Linked DNA regions of Homo sapiens: all the other regions are linked to region 2. The links are contacts of gene promoters, found by promoter capture Hi-C in blood cells and fetal thymus (Javierre and others, 2016). All regions are on one chromosome and are shown on one strand. Each heading gives the region's core, a stretch centred on a gene start or on the middle of the fragment in contact. The rest is flanking DNA. Distances are from core to core; before and after follow the strand shown. Region 1 has its middle 2.0 kb from the start of ZNF548. Region 2 holds the start of ZNF586 (zinc finger protein 586). Region 3 overlaps ZNF772 (zinc finger protein 772). Region 4 overlaps ZNF304 (zinc finger protein 304).

Region 1 (3,948 bases), core at 517-3,016, 380 kb after region 2:
TGGGTAAGTCGTGCCGCCGAGAGCTGCAGTGTCTTCTGGGTTATGAAGTTTCGACACCGCTTCCGGACTTGTCTTAGAGCGTTGATCAGTCCTTATATGGCAGATAAAGGCCCAGTGGCACTGTCAGGGGAGCTGGGAAACGGAGTCCCCGACTCCAAAGACAGGAGGGGGCTTGGCTTGCTCTTAAAGGCAACATACGGTATTTTTTTGGATTGTAGTATAGGATATTTACAGAAATGTTAGCAACTTATTACTTAAGACTCTATTAAGCACAGCTAATTCCCAATAACTACAGGTCCAAAGAGACACCCCATACCATAAAGGCAGTCTGCCTCTACTCATGCCTGCCAGCCATATTATTGCTTTTCAAATACACATACAGTTACGCTTTGGCGTCTGTTTAGTAAGCTTCAATATGTTTGGTCCAGAAGAAGAAAGAAAGACTACGCAGTTAGGGCTATGGACTGGAATTTGTAGGAAGGATGACAGGAGACGCTGAAGTAGGTTGAAAGGGTGAAGCTATGCCTCTGGATCAAAGAGAATACATCTTACCTGACTGTAGAGTCAGCGATTGTGTTCCTACGAAGGGTGCAACGCTTTTATTCTAATAATACTTACTACTTCATATCTGAGATATTTTCCATTTATTTTAAGAATCACAATCCTATCTGAAAATGAGAGTGACGACCAAAATGAGTGATTGAGGCATAAGTCACAAATCATGGAGGATTACTGGACCAGCCTAAGGGCACATCCAGAAAAATGTAAGTCACAGAAGCATCTGTGGCTGGTTTTTCCAAAGAGGTTCTTAGGAGGTTTAGTATTTATTATACATTTTCCTTAAAAAGGAAGAGGGGTTGGCAGTGAGACAAATGATTACAGACATGTGAAACTTTAGTTAGTGCCCAGTAAATCTACATTTTACATAAGATAGAGTAAACACGTGAGGGGAAAAGGGAATAAAGAAGATGTCTCAGAGAAGGATGAAGGAATGAATAATCTCATCTTCTCTCTGTTCTGTACCTTGGAAGATAAGCTAGTAGTCTTCTGAAAAGGTTGATTTCTATTTAGCCCTTAGGGAAGAAAACCTAATGATTGTAGTGTGGTAGGGGATATAATGAGGTGTGTCTGATTTCCCGTTCCTCTATAGTGGTGAATTCAGCTTCCAAAGTTATTCTAGGGTTCTCATGGTCAAGAGGGCATCCATTCAGTCAGTTAGGGGGTGCTTAGAATTTTATTTTTATTTCTCAAGAGCAGCTGATACATGCCATTTCTGGACAACATTGTCTACCGTTTTCATAGTTGAAGCATATGCACATCTTATCCTCAAAAAAGGTGTGGAATTCCATGATGTTATCTTCTTCCTCAGAAGTGATTTAAAATTTCACCTGTGTTTACAACTGTATTTGCACAGGGAGTCGAAATGTGAAAAACACTTGTGAAATAAAAAAATTACCGAAATCTATTAGTAATTATGTAGGTTATTCCAAAAGAAAAAAAACCAGAAGCCCTAGAGAAATCGATCTGTAATGTGAGAAAAAGATAAGATCTCAATGTTTGAGTGAGAGACAGCAAATTCTGAGAAGTCAGAGAATGAAGTTGAACCTGTGGCTCTGCTGGACACTTGGACACACTATGCTTTTGTTTCCAAAATGTAATTTTTTTACACACTTGAAAACATTGCTCATTAACTGCTTAGAGGGGTAAGTACAGATGATAAACTGAAAGACTTGCCACAGATAAAAATGAATAGAGAAGCTGTGTGATAATGTGTATTTACTTCTCTAGTAAATGTTCAATGAGCACATATGTATTGGGTTTCAGATCAATGATAGGTGCATGGGACACACTGGGAATAGGTTTCCCAGCTGCTATGTGTATACAGGACTGTTCTATGTTTTCTTAGATTCTGTATTTGTCTGTTTGATATTCATTAATCACAGGGTCAAACTAATAGAACCAAAGTTGTTTACTTTTTTTCTTGCAAGCCACTTACTCAAGTGCATGAAACTCATATAAAACCCCCCAACCACAAACACTAAAATGTGTTTTTCCTTCCTGCCCATCGACGGTATCTCTACCTCATCATTCTCTGCCACTTTAGTTATAAAGACATACTTCCAGTTACTCTGTTTTCTCTTTCTGCTTTCCAGTCTCTGTATGTAATAAGGTTTCTTGTGGCCTGTGTGGTGTTCAGTGCCTCTTATTTCCAGGGAACTGTAACATTAATCTTTTCTTTTGATGGCAGTGTCCCCTCTGTGTCATTGCTAATTATTAATTAAGACCTGGGCACAGTTTAAGAATATGACCTATATATAACGATTTTTCCTGAATCCTGTATTGACTTATCAGAATGGCCTACATATCCTACATATCAGCTGGTTGTAATATATTACAAAGAATCACCAGTGGGAGACACATTTTTCTCAGACTGTAACTGGCCGTTAAATTACTCATTGGCAACATGAGTTGAAAATCATATCCTCACAAACAAATATCTAGATAATACTTATGATGTCTTAGTCCAGTTAGCGTTGCTATAAATGAATACCTGAAGCTGGTAATTTATAAAGAAAAAAATGTTTATTTGGCTCAAAATGTTGATGTGTGGAAAGTTTAAAATTGGGCATCTGCATCTGGTGAGGGTCTTCGGCGGGTTCTATTCATGGTGGAAAACGAAAGAGAGCTATAATGCGAAGGAATCATATTGCAAGAGAGGAGGACAGTGGGTGGGGAGTGTATCAGGCTCTTTTCAACAACCAGCTTTCTTGGGAACTAATAGAGTGAGAATTTACACATCTTCAAGTGGGGGTATTCAGGTAGGATCTACCCTCATGACCAGAACACCTCCTATTAGGCCCCACCTCAAACATTGGAAATTAAATTTCAACATGAGCTTTGGAAGAGACAAACATCCAAACCATAGCATATGATTTCTTACAAATTCTGGCTGTTGGGAAACCAAAAATGGGGAATGAGAATTAAGTTGCTGGCTTATGTTCAAGTAAGGAAAAAATTTATCTCTGCCCCAAATCCATAATCATAAACAAGAAACCACCATTAATTAGAGATAACTTGGGATGTGTACCTATGCTTTAAAAGTCAGCTAGTCAGCAAAAGCTTCACCCCAGTAATTAACCAGAAACTTAGCAAATCATTGTTAGGCCAAGATTCTAAAATTTTTCCAATGGGGGTAAGGCCCAGTACTAAAGATGGTCAATCAGTGGCAGCCCCAGGCTGCTGGCAACAACTAATCCACAAGTGCCTCCTGTCAGTAATCCTGTTTATGAAAGCCAGTTGGTAAATGGTTGCATTTACACTAACATACCTGAAAGTCCATCAGTCTTTCAACTCTGCTGCTTCTGAAAGTCCTCAGTCCCTGAAGGCCAGCCTTCCTAAAAGCTCATATAATAGCAGTTTTGGCTTTGTTTGAGGAGACTGCCTGACCACTACAGCTCTGCCCTGCAGACAAATAGGAATATCACTTTTTTTCCCTTGAGATATCAAAATCTATTTATTCTTTTTTTTTTTTTTGAGACGGAGTCTCACTCTGTCGCTGGGCTGGAGTGCAGTGGTGTGATCTCGGCTCACTGCAACCTCCGCCTCTCCGGTTCAAGTGATTCTCCTGCCTCAGACTCTCAAGTAGCTGGAACTACATATGCACGCCACCACGCCCAGTTAATTTTTTTGTATTTTTAGTAGAGACGGGATTTCACCATGTTGGCCAGGATGGTCTCGATCTCTTGACCTCATGATCCGCCTGCCTCGGCCTCCCAAAGTGCTGGGATTACAGGCATGAGCCACCACGCCTGGCCCCATTTATTCTTAATTGAATATAAATTATTACTTATATTTTAATTATATGAATATAATTTAAAAGTTTGCAAGCTTTCAATGGTTCCATCTGTTTGTAATTAGTTATGAGTTTGGATATGAAATGGTAGACTA
Region 2 (3,845 bases), core at 767-3,266:
TGCCCACTCAGTAACCAGACAGCGCCTATTAAGAAATTGGTAACATCACCTCACCCCTCTAGTTTCACTTCTAAGTAAGTATTTGCACACCCCAGTATCAGTTCCTGGGTGAACCCTCCACATGTGTTACATTAGTTGACAGACATAGCAACAACTCCCCATAACCTATGTCACTGATGTAGGTTTGGGGTTTGAGGTTTTTCCAAGATCCCCAGATTGAAGGACCGGAGAAATGGCACTTAAGTGTCCTAGGAGGTGCGGTAGTTCCTGCTTGGCATCCCAGCACTTTGGGAAGCCGAAGCAAGAGGACTGCTTGAGCCCAAGGGTTCGAGACTAGCCTGGGCAACATGGCGAAACCCCATCTCTCTCTCTCTCTTTTTTTTTTTTTTTTCAGACGGAGTCTTTCTCTGTCGCCCAGGCTGGAGTGCAGTGGCGCGATCTCGGCTCACTGCAACCTCTGCCTCCCGGGTTCAAGCGATTCTCCTGCCTCAGCCTCCCAAGTAGTTGGGACTACAGGTGTGTGCCACCAGGCCTGGCTAATTTTTTGTATTTTTAGTAGAGGGGGGATTTCACCGTGTTAGCCAGGATGGTCTCAAACTCCTGACCTCGTGATCCGCCCGCCTCGGCCTCCCAAAGTGCTAGGATTACAGGCGTGAGCCACCGCGCCCGGCCGTGAAACCCCACCTCTACTAAAAATACAAAAAGCCAGTTACTCGGGAGACTGAGATGAGAGGCTCTCCTGAGCCCGGAGAGGTCGAGGCCGTGCTGCGCCGTGATCGCGTCACCGCAACCCAGCCTGGGTGTTGAGTGAGAACCCGTCGCCGAAAAAAAAAAAAGATGCCAAGATCTAGACATGTGGGATAGGATGAGGACCAGTGAAGGACTAGAGCATCCCCTACTTCCTACTGTGGATTCTGTAAGTGCTTCTGTAGCCATGAGGTGTGCCAAAAGGCAGGGCTTTCACAAATGTGTCTGTGCTCGGATTTGATAGACTCAGGCTTCTCTGTAAGCTTTTTTTGGCCCTGCAGCCAGATGACTTCAGACTGAGTCTCTAATCTTGTGGCCCAGTGCTCAATGTCACCTCTCAATGATTCAACCTCTCAATGTCCTCATCACTGCCTTCAACTCTGTTCTTCCTTCGAACATCTTTTGGGAATCGCAACTCTAACACAGATTTCCTCCTTTGTTCAAAACTGTCCATGGCTTTTAGCGTCCTCACAGTCAAAGTTCAACCCTCAGCCTGGTACTGAAGAAACAACTCCGCCTCGGCCAGGCGCGGTGGCTCACGCCTGTATTCCCAGCACTTTGGGAGGCCGAGGTGGGCGGATCACCTAAGGTCAGGAGTTCGAGGCCAGCCTAGCCAACATGGTGAAACCCCGTGGTGGCGCATGCCTGTAATCCCAGCTACTCGGGAGGCTGAGGCAGGAGAATCGCTTGAACCGGGGAGGTGGAGCTTGCAGTGAGCCGAGATCGCGCCACTGCACTCCAGCCTGGGCGACAGAGTGAGACTCCGTCTCAAAAAAAAAAAAAAAAAGAAATAACTCCGTATCACACTTCTTTCCCAGTAGACACACGATGTCCCCGTGTTCCGCATCCTCCTGCCTCAGTCGCGCCTGCAGGCCTTTGCCCTCCGCCAGTCTCGCTCTGCCGACCGCATCAACTGGGTGTCGGAAACAGGGATCCCACCCGCCGGCGCCTCTCCGTCCCTGACAGAGGCCTGGGCTGCAGGGACGCGAGGAGGCGGCCCTCACGATCAGGGGCCTCAGGGTCTGGGTGGGTAGGGTGGGTAAGGCCCGGAGGTCGCAGCGCTCACCTGAGCAGGCGCCCTCAGAGCGGCTGCTGCCGCCATGACTCTGGGCGGGGGGGGAACGCGGGCTCGGCGGTGTTCCTGTCGTTGTCCTGTCCCGGGTCGCGACCAGCGGCGTCGCCGAACCTCAGATCCGCCTGTGTGCAATGGCCACAACCACTCCTCCCGAGCTCGTCCAGACCCAGCATCGCCGGATGGACCTGACAGGCCAAAATGGCTGCCACGGCTAGGACGCCGGAAGTCCTGGCTTGACTTTACGTGCCCCGGCAATGGCACGGCTTCTCTGAAGCTTCATTGGCTCAGCCACGTTACCATTTCGCAGGGCGGATTCTGGGTAATGTAGTTCCCAGACATGGGCAGCGCTTAAGGTGGCTTTCTTCCGACTTTCCGAAGAAAGGGGCAAGCTCCACTGCGAGGGGCGCTAGGAAATGGCGACTCCAGGTCCAGATGCGGAGGAGGGTCTCCCATCTTAGAAGAGGCCATACGCACATTTCTGGGGGTACTGTGTGCAACTGATTGCCCGCGTGTTTGGAGACTTCTTATTTCAGAATTTGTGATGCTCGGCTTCTTCCTTTTTTTTTTTTTTTTGTCTTTTTTTTAAGACATAGTTCTCTCTGTCACTCAGGCTGGGGTGCAGTGGTGTGATCTTGGCTCACTGCAGCCTATGCCTCCCGGGTTCAAGCGATTCTCGTGCCTCAACCATCCGAGTAGCTGGGATTACAGGCGTGTGCCACCATACCCTGCTAATTTTTGTATTTTTAGTAGAGACGGGGTTTCCTCATTTTGGCCAGGCTGGTCTCGAACTTCTGGCCTCAAGTGATCTGCCTGCAATGGTCTACCGAAGTGCTAGGATTACAGGCGTGAACCACCGTTCTCAGCCCATTAGCAACACTTTTATTTATATCTTTAACCTACAGATTCCTCTAGAAATCTGATATCAACATCAAAAAGCTAATGAGACAAATGCTATTATGTTACAGGACAATGGCTGCGGTGTTCAAACATGGAGTATGTATGCATGAGAGAAGAGAGAGACCCTCTCACATTGTTTTATATTCAGTAAAAACAACAAGGAAGTAAAACCAAAGACAGGCAACCCCGCGCCAGGCCCGAAACCAGGCCTAGGCCCGCCTGGCCTAAACCCAGTAGTTAAAAATCAACTTATGATTTAGAAGCCGATGTTATTCATAGATTCCTTAGATTGTATAGAAGAACATTGTGAAACTCCCTGCCCTGTTCTGTTCCTCCCTGACCACCGGTGCATGCAGCCCCTGTCACATACCCCTTGCTTGCTCAAATCAATCACGACCCTTTCATGTGAAATCTTTAGTGTTGTGAGCCCTTAAAAGGGACAGAAATTGTGCACTCCGGGAGCTCAGATTTTGAGACAGTAGCTGGCCAATGCTCCCAGCTGAATAAAGCCCTTCCTTCTGCAACTCGGTGTCTGAGAGGTTTTGTCTGCGGCTCGTCCTGCTACATGCACAGGGTGCTTTTACACTGAGATATTTCAAGTGCCTTAAATCCATGCGTTCACCTCTTTGCTGGCAAGTGCTTATCATTGTCAGTGGCATTGGAATCAGAGTGACTCCATCTTGAAAATGGGCTGGATAAAGTAAGGCTGAGAAATACTCGGCTGCATTCCCAGGTTAGGCATTCTTAGTCACAGGATGAGATAGGAGGTTGGCACAAGATGCAGGTCACAAAGACCCTGCTGATAAAACAGGATGCAGTAAAGAAGCTGGCTAAAACGCACCAAAACCAAGATGGTGATGAAAGTGACCTGTGGTCATCCTCACTGCTCATTATACGCTAATTATAATGCATTAGCATACTAACTCCCGCCAGCGCCATGACAGTATACCAATGCCCTGGCAATGTTTGGAAGTTACCCTATATAGTCTAAAAAGGGGAGGGAACCTCAGTTCTGGGAAATCTCCACCTCTTTTTTTTTTTTTTTTTTTGAGATGGAGTCTCGCTCTGTCACCCAGGCTGGAGTGCATTGCTGCGATCTCGGCTCACTGCAACCTCCGCCTCTTGG
Region 3 (3,783 bases), core at 877-3,376, 300 kb after region 2:
AGACACCAATGACATCTGGTCCTGATATTTCCTGAGTTGAGGAGTTAGGTAGGAGGGTGTACAGGAGGGAGATGTGTGGGGGCACGGATGGGGGTTCTTGGGAGAGATGCTGCTCATGGACTTGGCTCTCCTGATTGTGGCAGGGGCAGGTGAACTTTGAGGACGTGTTCGTGTACTTCTCCCAGGAGGAGTGGGTGCTCCTTGATGAGGCTCAGAGGCTCCTGTACCGTGATGTGATGCTGGAGAACTTTGCACTTATGGCCTCTCTGGGTAAGGCCGTCACATCCACCCCAGTGACTTGGACTGGGTCCTGCCCTTCCCCTTTTTTTCAGGGCATCTTTGTCCTTCCTACATCAGAGCCGTGGACACTGTCTCATTTCTTAGTGCCTGGAGTAGGTTCTGTGAGTGCTGGGCTTGGGCTGTTTGCACTCCTACTTTCTCCTTTTGAGCATTCCCAGCGCTTGCTGTCTCAGAGCCTTGCAGGCATGGATTCAGGAGTTATGCATTGTATTGTCAGCCCAGTGGGTCATATCCATCTTGTCCTTTCCCTGTCTGAATTCCTCTGTCTGTATCCATGACACCTCTGTGCCTGGGATTCTGCGCTCTTCCTTTAGCTGACATTTCCTGTGGCCTGCCTATGTCAGGAATTGTAGGGACCATTATGGTCGCTACTTGCTAGGACCACTGCACTATTCCTGCAAGACCTTACTCTGAGATTATTTTAATAATATTTAGTTTTCTATATGGGTTACCCAGACCAGTGCTGTTCTATCTTTCCCTTAGGACATACATCTTTCATGTCCCACATAGTTGCCTCACTGGTGATGGGTAGTGAGCCCTGGGTACCTGACTGGGTGGACATGACCCTAGCTGTTGCCACAGAGACTCCAGGTGGGAGTGACCCTGGTGAGTAGGAGCTGGGGAAAGGTGTGATGTCAGGGCTGGGTTCATATCATTCCATAGCCTCTTTGTGCCTACAGTTGTATTAGTGCTAAGGCCACTGGCCTTTCATACTCTGGCCTTTGGCCTCTGGATGTTCCATACCTCTGCCTTCATGTCTCACCTGTTCCTCTCCATGGCTTGTTCTACAGTGCCTTCCAGCATTGGCCTGTACTTAGTGTTTCATGAGATGTGTAGCCCAAATAGTCCTTAAACACCAACTACTGAGTAGCAATTTGATTTTCTTTGGTATGGACCATAACCTTCTGCACAACTCTCACCTGTCCCCAGCAGCCAAGAAAATCTGATTGTGAATGACTTTGAGACCTGCCTCTTTTTTGTGCTGTACCCCACATCTTTGTCCTCTCCCAGTTGAGGCCTTCTCCATTCTATGACATTTAGATGCCAACTACCGTATAGTACACATTTGCTGAACTTGAGTTTGGACCCTTGTCCTAACAACAGTCCTATGACCTTGGTCTTAGTTGTGTTAGACACATATTTGTAGTGAGGCTTCCCCTCTTCCACCTGTGTCAATTTGTACTTCACCAGCATTTCTCTGCTTTCAGGTTGTTGGCATGGAATGGAGGATGAAGAGATACCTTTTGAGCAGAGCTTTTCTATAGGAATGTCACAGATCAGGATTCCCAAGGGAGGTCCTTCTACTCAGAAGGCTTACCCCTGTGGGACATGTGGCCTGGTCTTAAAAGACATTTTGCACTTGGCTGAGCACCAGGAAACACACCCAGGGCAGAAACCATACATGTGTGTGCTGTGTGGGAAACAGTTCTGCTTCAGTGCAAACCTTCACCAGCACCAGAAGCAGCACAGTGGAGAGAAACCCTTTAGAAGTGATAAGAGCAGGCCCTTTCTTCTGAACAACTGTGCTGTGCAATCAATGGAGATGTCTTTTGTGACAGGGGAGGCTTGTAAGGACTTCCTAGCCAGCTCAAGCATTTTCGAGCACCATGCCCCTCACAATGAGTGGAAGCCACACAGCAACACCAAGTGTGAGGAGGCCTCTCACTGTGGAAAAAGGCATTACAAATGCAGTGAATGTGGGAAAACCTTCAGCCGCAAAGACTCACTTGTTCAACACCAGAGAGTCCACACTGGAGAAAGGCCTTATGAGTGCGGTGAATGTGGGAAAACCTTTAGCCGCAAACCCATACTTGCTCAGCACCAGAGAATCCACACTGGAGAAATGCCTTATGAGTGTGGCATATGTGGGAAAGTTTTTAATCATAGCTCTAACCTTATTGTACATCAAAGAGTACACACTGGAGCAAGGCCTTACAAGTGCAGTGAATGTGGGAAAGCCTATAGTCACAAATCTACACTTGTTCAGCATGAGAGTATCCATACTGGAGAAAGGCCATATGAGTGCAGCGAATGTGGAAAATACTTTGGTCACAAATACAGACTCATTAAACATTGGAGTGTTCATACTGGAGCAAGGCCTTATGAGTGCATCGCATGTGGGAAGTTCTTTAGCCAAAGCTCTGACCTTATTGCACATCAAAGAGTTCATAATGGTGAAAAGCCTTATGTGTGCAGTGAATGTGGAAAAGCCTTTAGCCACAAACATGTACTTGTTCAGCATCATAGAATTCACACTGGAGAAAGGCCATATAAGTGCAGTGAATGTGGGAAGGCCTTCAGGCAGAGGGCTTCCCTCATCCGCCACTGGAAAATTCACACTGGAGAAAGGCCTTAGGATGGGAGATAATTCCGTTTCCTTGTTCAACATAATAACTGACATCAGAGAGAAGCTCCAAGCATAGCCTTTATGTGTAGCCGACAGCCAGAAGTAGAACTTTATACACTCAAACACTCACCCTGGGGAGGTTCTTCCGAGTGCCAGCTATATGGGAAGCCTTCTGGAGCTATGCTGAATTTTCTAGACTCTTGCTGGAATTTCGTCAAGGCAGTGCCTGTTAGAAGCCATCTGTCTTTGTGCTGGAAGAGTCCTGCCTTGTGCCAAAGTAACCCCAATGTGTTTCAAAAGACAGACCTCTGTACTATTCCCTTCCCTGGAGGGAATCATCAGTAGCCTGAGGCCATCAAGGATTCTCACTTTTTTTCTGCCCCACTACTGGTTTAAGCATGAGCATGACCCAGTTTTAGCCAGAAAAATGGGAGCTTTGTTCTGCTGACCACTGGCAGAGGTTTCCCTTCATGGATATAGTTGATCTCACATGGCACTTGGGACGAATTTTTCTAGCCTTCAAGACACCTGACCTGAAATTGGCTGCCTCATATTCTGGTTTTGCAACAAATGCCTTAATTTTTAGACTATCTGAAATCTTGAGGATTCTGTTCGCTTTGTGGGTTGGGTTGAGAACAGAATTGAGCTAAGCCAGTATGAAGGGAAGAACAGCTTTTGTGAGAGCTCCAACTATCTGTATCTCTGAAGTGATAGTAGGATGGCAAAGACTAGCTCTTATGCTAGTGTCAAGCTAACTTACTTGACTGCTTCAGCTCTCCTAGGAAAGAATGCCAGTCTTTGTAGGCCTAATCTTTTGGTCTATATGTTAAGATTTTTTGTGTAATTGAGGTCACCCTAAGCAGTGGGCATTTGTTGTGATAATCTCTAATGTGTCTGGGAGCAACATGAATTACGTCCCTTGTTCCCAGAAGATACTTCATATTCCCAAGGCTTCTTGAGGAGAATTTGAACTCAGTGGACATGTCAAGATCTCTGAAGTCTATTTTTCAGTAGGCAGTTGATATTGGCTGTCCTCCAGAAGGCCCAGGTAGGAATCATAGTTGGTGCAGAAACCCAGATTAATAAAGGAATGAGAAAACTGCAGCAAACTATAGGGAATATGACCCTTCTAAAGG
Region 4 (3,407 bases), core at 295-2,794, 410 kb after region 2:
ATAAGTAAATGGATAAAGAAACTGAGGTGTATTTATAGAATGGAATATCATTCAGCCATAATTTGCACACAAATCTTCAGAGGTTTATTTGTAATAGCCAAAAACTGAAAGTTACCCAAACATCCATAACAATTAAGTTGACAAAGAAGAAAAATTGTGGTATACAATGAAATACTGAAATACTACGCAGCAATACAAATGAGCAAACAATTGATTCATGCAACAAGATAATGGATTAACCTTAAAATAGTTATGTTTACTGAAAAAGCCAGAGCCCCACCCCCTAAAAAGTACACACCATATGGTTTCATTTATAAAATTATAGAAAATGCTTGCTGTTGCTTGTGAATTGTGGAAAACAAGATAAGGAAAAATTGAGGATTATAAAGGGACAATCTTTTGTTGTGTTGGATATCTTGACTGTGGTGGTTTCATAGGTGTACACACATGCTGAAACAGCACATTTTACACTTTACATATTTGCAGTTTATTGCATGTTAATCATACCTCCATAAAGCTATTAAATAAATGTTCCTCATTAAAATCTATATATACTGTTCCACTAGGAAAGTTAGATCTGTCAACTATTTTGGCTTTACCATATTCCTCTCCCTACAATTTAGGAGAGTGAGCCCTGCCTCAATGTTGGTAAAAATTGGTAAGCAATGATGTCCACATCCACCTCAGTCACTCGGAATGCTGGCTGGGTCAGAGAAGACCCATCCCTGGATCTCTCTTCTGTCACTGCTGAGGTTCCTGTCTGTGCAGGTCAACTGCCCAGGGAGACACAGGAATCCACAAACATTTAGATTATTTCCTCTGACAGTGGCCTTGGCCACAGGAGATACAGATGTCTGAAGGTCCTGAGAATTTCTATGCACTCCCATCCCACACCATCATAACTGCACCGAGACTTGTGGATGCCCCTCTAGAATGTTCGAATCTCCTTTTGTTTGCCACAGTCATCCCCACTCCATTATCTCAGTGCTTCTGTAGCAATCATGATTTTCACATTGCCCTACAGAGGTCTTACAGTCAATGTTACTTGCCTATGGGGTTCTGGATATCAGGGACTTGATCCTGTACAGGTACAGAAGACAGCAATCCCTCAACAGTGCTGGGGAGTACGTGACAGTTAAGGGACCCAACTTATGTTGCTTCCACAAGCACAGGAGATTTTCGCACCAACTATGCCCTCCTCACTGGGCTCACAGGAAATCCTGGCAGCCAGGCCACAAAGTTAGGCACAAAAATTTTTTCAGTCTTTCCTAGCAAGCCTAGGGCAATAGTGTAAATTAGGTCAAACTAGACTGAGAACAGTTTTCTGCCATCCTTTGGTCCCCTCTGAGGCACATAAAGGTGGTGCCCACAAAAGGTGCTACTCCCTTCATGACAGAACCCAATTCTTTTCTCAATCCACTCTACACAGTAACAAAATCCCCAAGAGTAAAGACTGCCACAATAGGCCCTTATCACTGTATAAATCAGAGCAGCATGGGACAAGCAGTTCCAAATTTGGGCGATTTGGCAGTAAGACAAGTAAGTCACAGCTATCACGTTTACAGTTAACATTGTCCATGAAGATGGAAAATCGTGTCAGGAAATCCCAGCAGACCCTAGCTCAGGTCCTTTTGGTGAGAGCTAGATCATGTTTGCTCAGAACCTAATCATGAGGGAAAAGATGAGGACCCTCAATGGTAGGGGGTGAAGTGGGGGGGGGGGGAAGTCCTTGAAAATATTCATGATTACCTGTAGGGAACAGGAAAGAAAGCACAGAAGTCTGCCTTCCCTGAGCAAAATGGAGTGATTGACACACACAGCTGGTAGCAATAAGATGGCTTCCGCCACAGGCACTGGCAGTGATATAATTCCATCAAGAGCTCTAGACAGTTACAAAGTGCAACACACCTCATGAAAGCCTCCCACATATGTGGTGCTTATCAGGAATCTCCCCAGGGTGGAATGAATATACGGTGCTCATCTGCTAGCTGATGGTTCCCTCACAAAGGGTACTCACAGAGCATTGCTCTGGTGTGAGTCCTATGAGGATGAACAAGATGACATATTTTCTGCATTCATAAGGCCTTTCTCTTGTGTGAATTTTCTGGTGTTAAACAAGTTTAAGAGATGCAGCTAAAGGGCCACCAAAACTGTTGCACTCGTGAGCTCTTTCTCCAGTGTGAGCTTTCTGGTGACGAACAAGATGGGAGCTTCTGCTATAGGCTTTCCCACATTCGCTGCATACGTAAGGCTTTTCTCCAGTGTGAACCCTCTGGTGCAGAATGAGGCCAGAGTTGCGGCTAAAGAATTTCCCACATTCACTGCACTCATAAGGTCTTGCTCCAGTGTGAACTTTCTTGTGTTGAACAAGGTGGGAGCTACTAATGTAAGCCTTCCCACATTCACTGCACACATAAGGCCTTGCTCCTGTGTGAACTCTCTGGTGCAAAATGAGGCTGGAGTTGTGGCTAAAGCATTTCCCACATTCATTGCACTCATAAGGCTTTGCTCCAGTGTGAATTCTCTGGTGTACAATAAGGTTGGAGCTATGGCTGAAGAATTTACCACATTCACCACACTCATAAGGCCTTTCTCCAGTGTGGATTTTTTGGTGTTGCACAAGTGTGTCTTTACGGCTGAAGGCCTTCCCACATTCACTGCACTCATAAGGCCTTGCTCCAGTGTGAATTATCTGGTGCTGAACAAGTGTGTCTTTGCAGCCAAAGGCCTTCCCACATTTGCTGCACACGTAGGATCTTGCTCCTGTGTGGACTCTCCGATGTTTAATGAGGCTAGAGTTATGGCTAAAGAATTTTCCACATTCTATGCATTCATAGGGCCTTGCCCCGGTATGAATTCTCCAGTGCTCAATAAGGTGGGAGCTTTGGCTAAAGAATTTTCCACATTCACTGCACTCATAAGGCCTTTCTCCAGTATGAAATCTCTGGTGCTGAACAAGTGTGTCTTTACGGCTAAAGGCTTTCCCACATTTGTTGCACTTATAAGGCCTTTCTCCTGTGTGAATTCTCTGGTGCTGAACAAGGTGGGAGCTTCTGCTGTAGGCTTTTCCACATTCACTGCAGTCATAAGATCTTTCTCCAGTGTGAACTCTCTGATGCTGAACAAGTGTGTCCTTGCGGCTGAAGGCCTTCCCACATTCACTGCATGTATAGTGTCTTTTTCCAGTGTGAAATTTCTGGTGCATTTTTAGGTGGTGCAAGTGAATGAAGGCTTTTCCACACTCCTTACACACATGAGATATTTCTCCACTGTGGATTTTTCTGTGATTAATAAGAGCTGATTTCTCCTTGAACACATTTCCACATGGTAGGCATCTGAAGGGTCTCACCTCAGCATGAGTCATCTGGCTGTCAAGAAGAGTAAAGGTGTCCAGGAAGGCTTTCCCT

The links. Contacts are between HindIII fragments. The CHiCAGO score rates a contact against its expected background, and 5 or more counts as called.
Region 1: a fragment that was not itself captured here is called in contact with the fragment with the promoter of ZNF586 in region 2 in 5 of 17 cell types (naive CD4 T cells, total CD4 T cells, fetal thymus and 2 more); the score reaches 9.4 in naive CD4 T cells.
Region 3: a fragment that was not itself captured here is called in contact with the fragment with the promoter of ZNF586 in region 2 in 14 of 17 cell types (naive CD4 T cells, total CD8 T cells, naive CD8 T cells and 11 more); the score reaches 15.9 in naive CD4 T cells.
Region 4: a contact is called between a fragment that was not itself captured here and the fragment with the promoter of ZNF586 in region 2, in 1 of 17 cell types (non-activated CD4 T cells). The highest score is 5.6, in non-activated CD4 T cells.

What each region holds. Positions count from the first base shown.
Region 1 is chr19:57,385,857-57,389,804 of GRCh38, reverse strand. No RefSeq gene overlaps it. Among named protein-coding and RNA genes, the nearest start is that of ZNF548, 2.0 kb to the left of the region's middle. RefSeq lists enhancers at 1-173, 314-393. The HindIII fragment of the contact is 2,712 bases long and covers 411-3,122 here.
Region 2 is chr19:57,767,847-57,771,691 of GRCh38, reverse strand. ZNF586 (zinc finger protein 586) reads right to left here and starts at 2,016. Exons shown (of 3, transcript NM_017652.4): 1 at 1,814-2,016. The coding sequence starts at 1,849. RefSeq lists enhancers at 1,782-2,031, 1,753-2,292. The HindIII fragment of the contact is 1,086 bases long and covers 1,013-2,098 here.
Region 3 is chr19:57,472,147-57,475,929 of GRCh38, reverse strand. ZNF772 (zinc finger protein 772) reads left to right here. Exons shown (of 4, transcript NM_001144068.2): 3 at 144-270; 4 at 1,509-3,783. The coding sequence ends at 2,656. Among named protein-coding and RNA genes, the nearest start is that of ZNF772, 3.5 kb to the left of the region's middle. The HindIII fragment of the contact is 6,834 bases long and covers 1-3,783 here.
Region 4 is chr19:57,356,553-57,359,959 of GRCh38, reverse strand. ZNF304 (zinc finger protein 304) reads right to left here. Exons shown (of 3, transcript NM_020657.4): 3 at 62-3,407. The coding sequence ends at 2,111. Among named protein-coding and RNA genes, the nearest start is that of TRAPPC2B, 5.3 kb to the left of the region's middle. The HindIII fragment of the contact is 9,033 bases long and covers 1-3,407 here.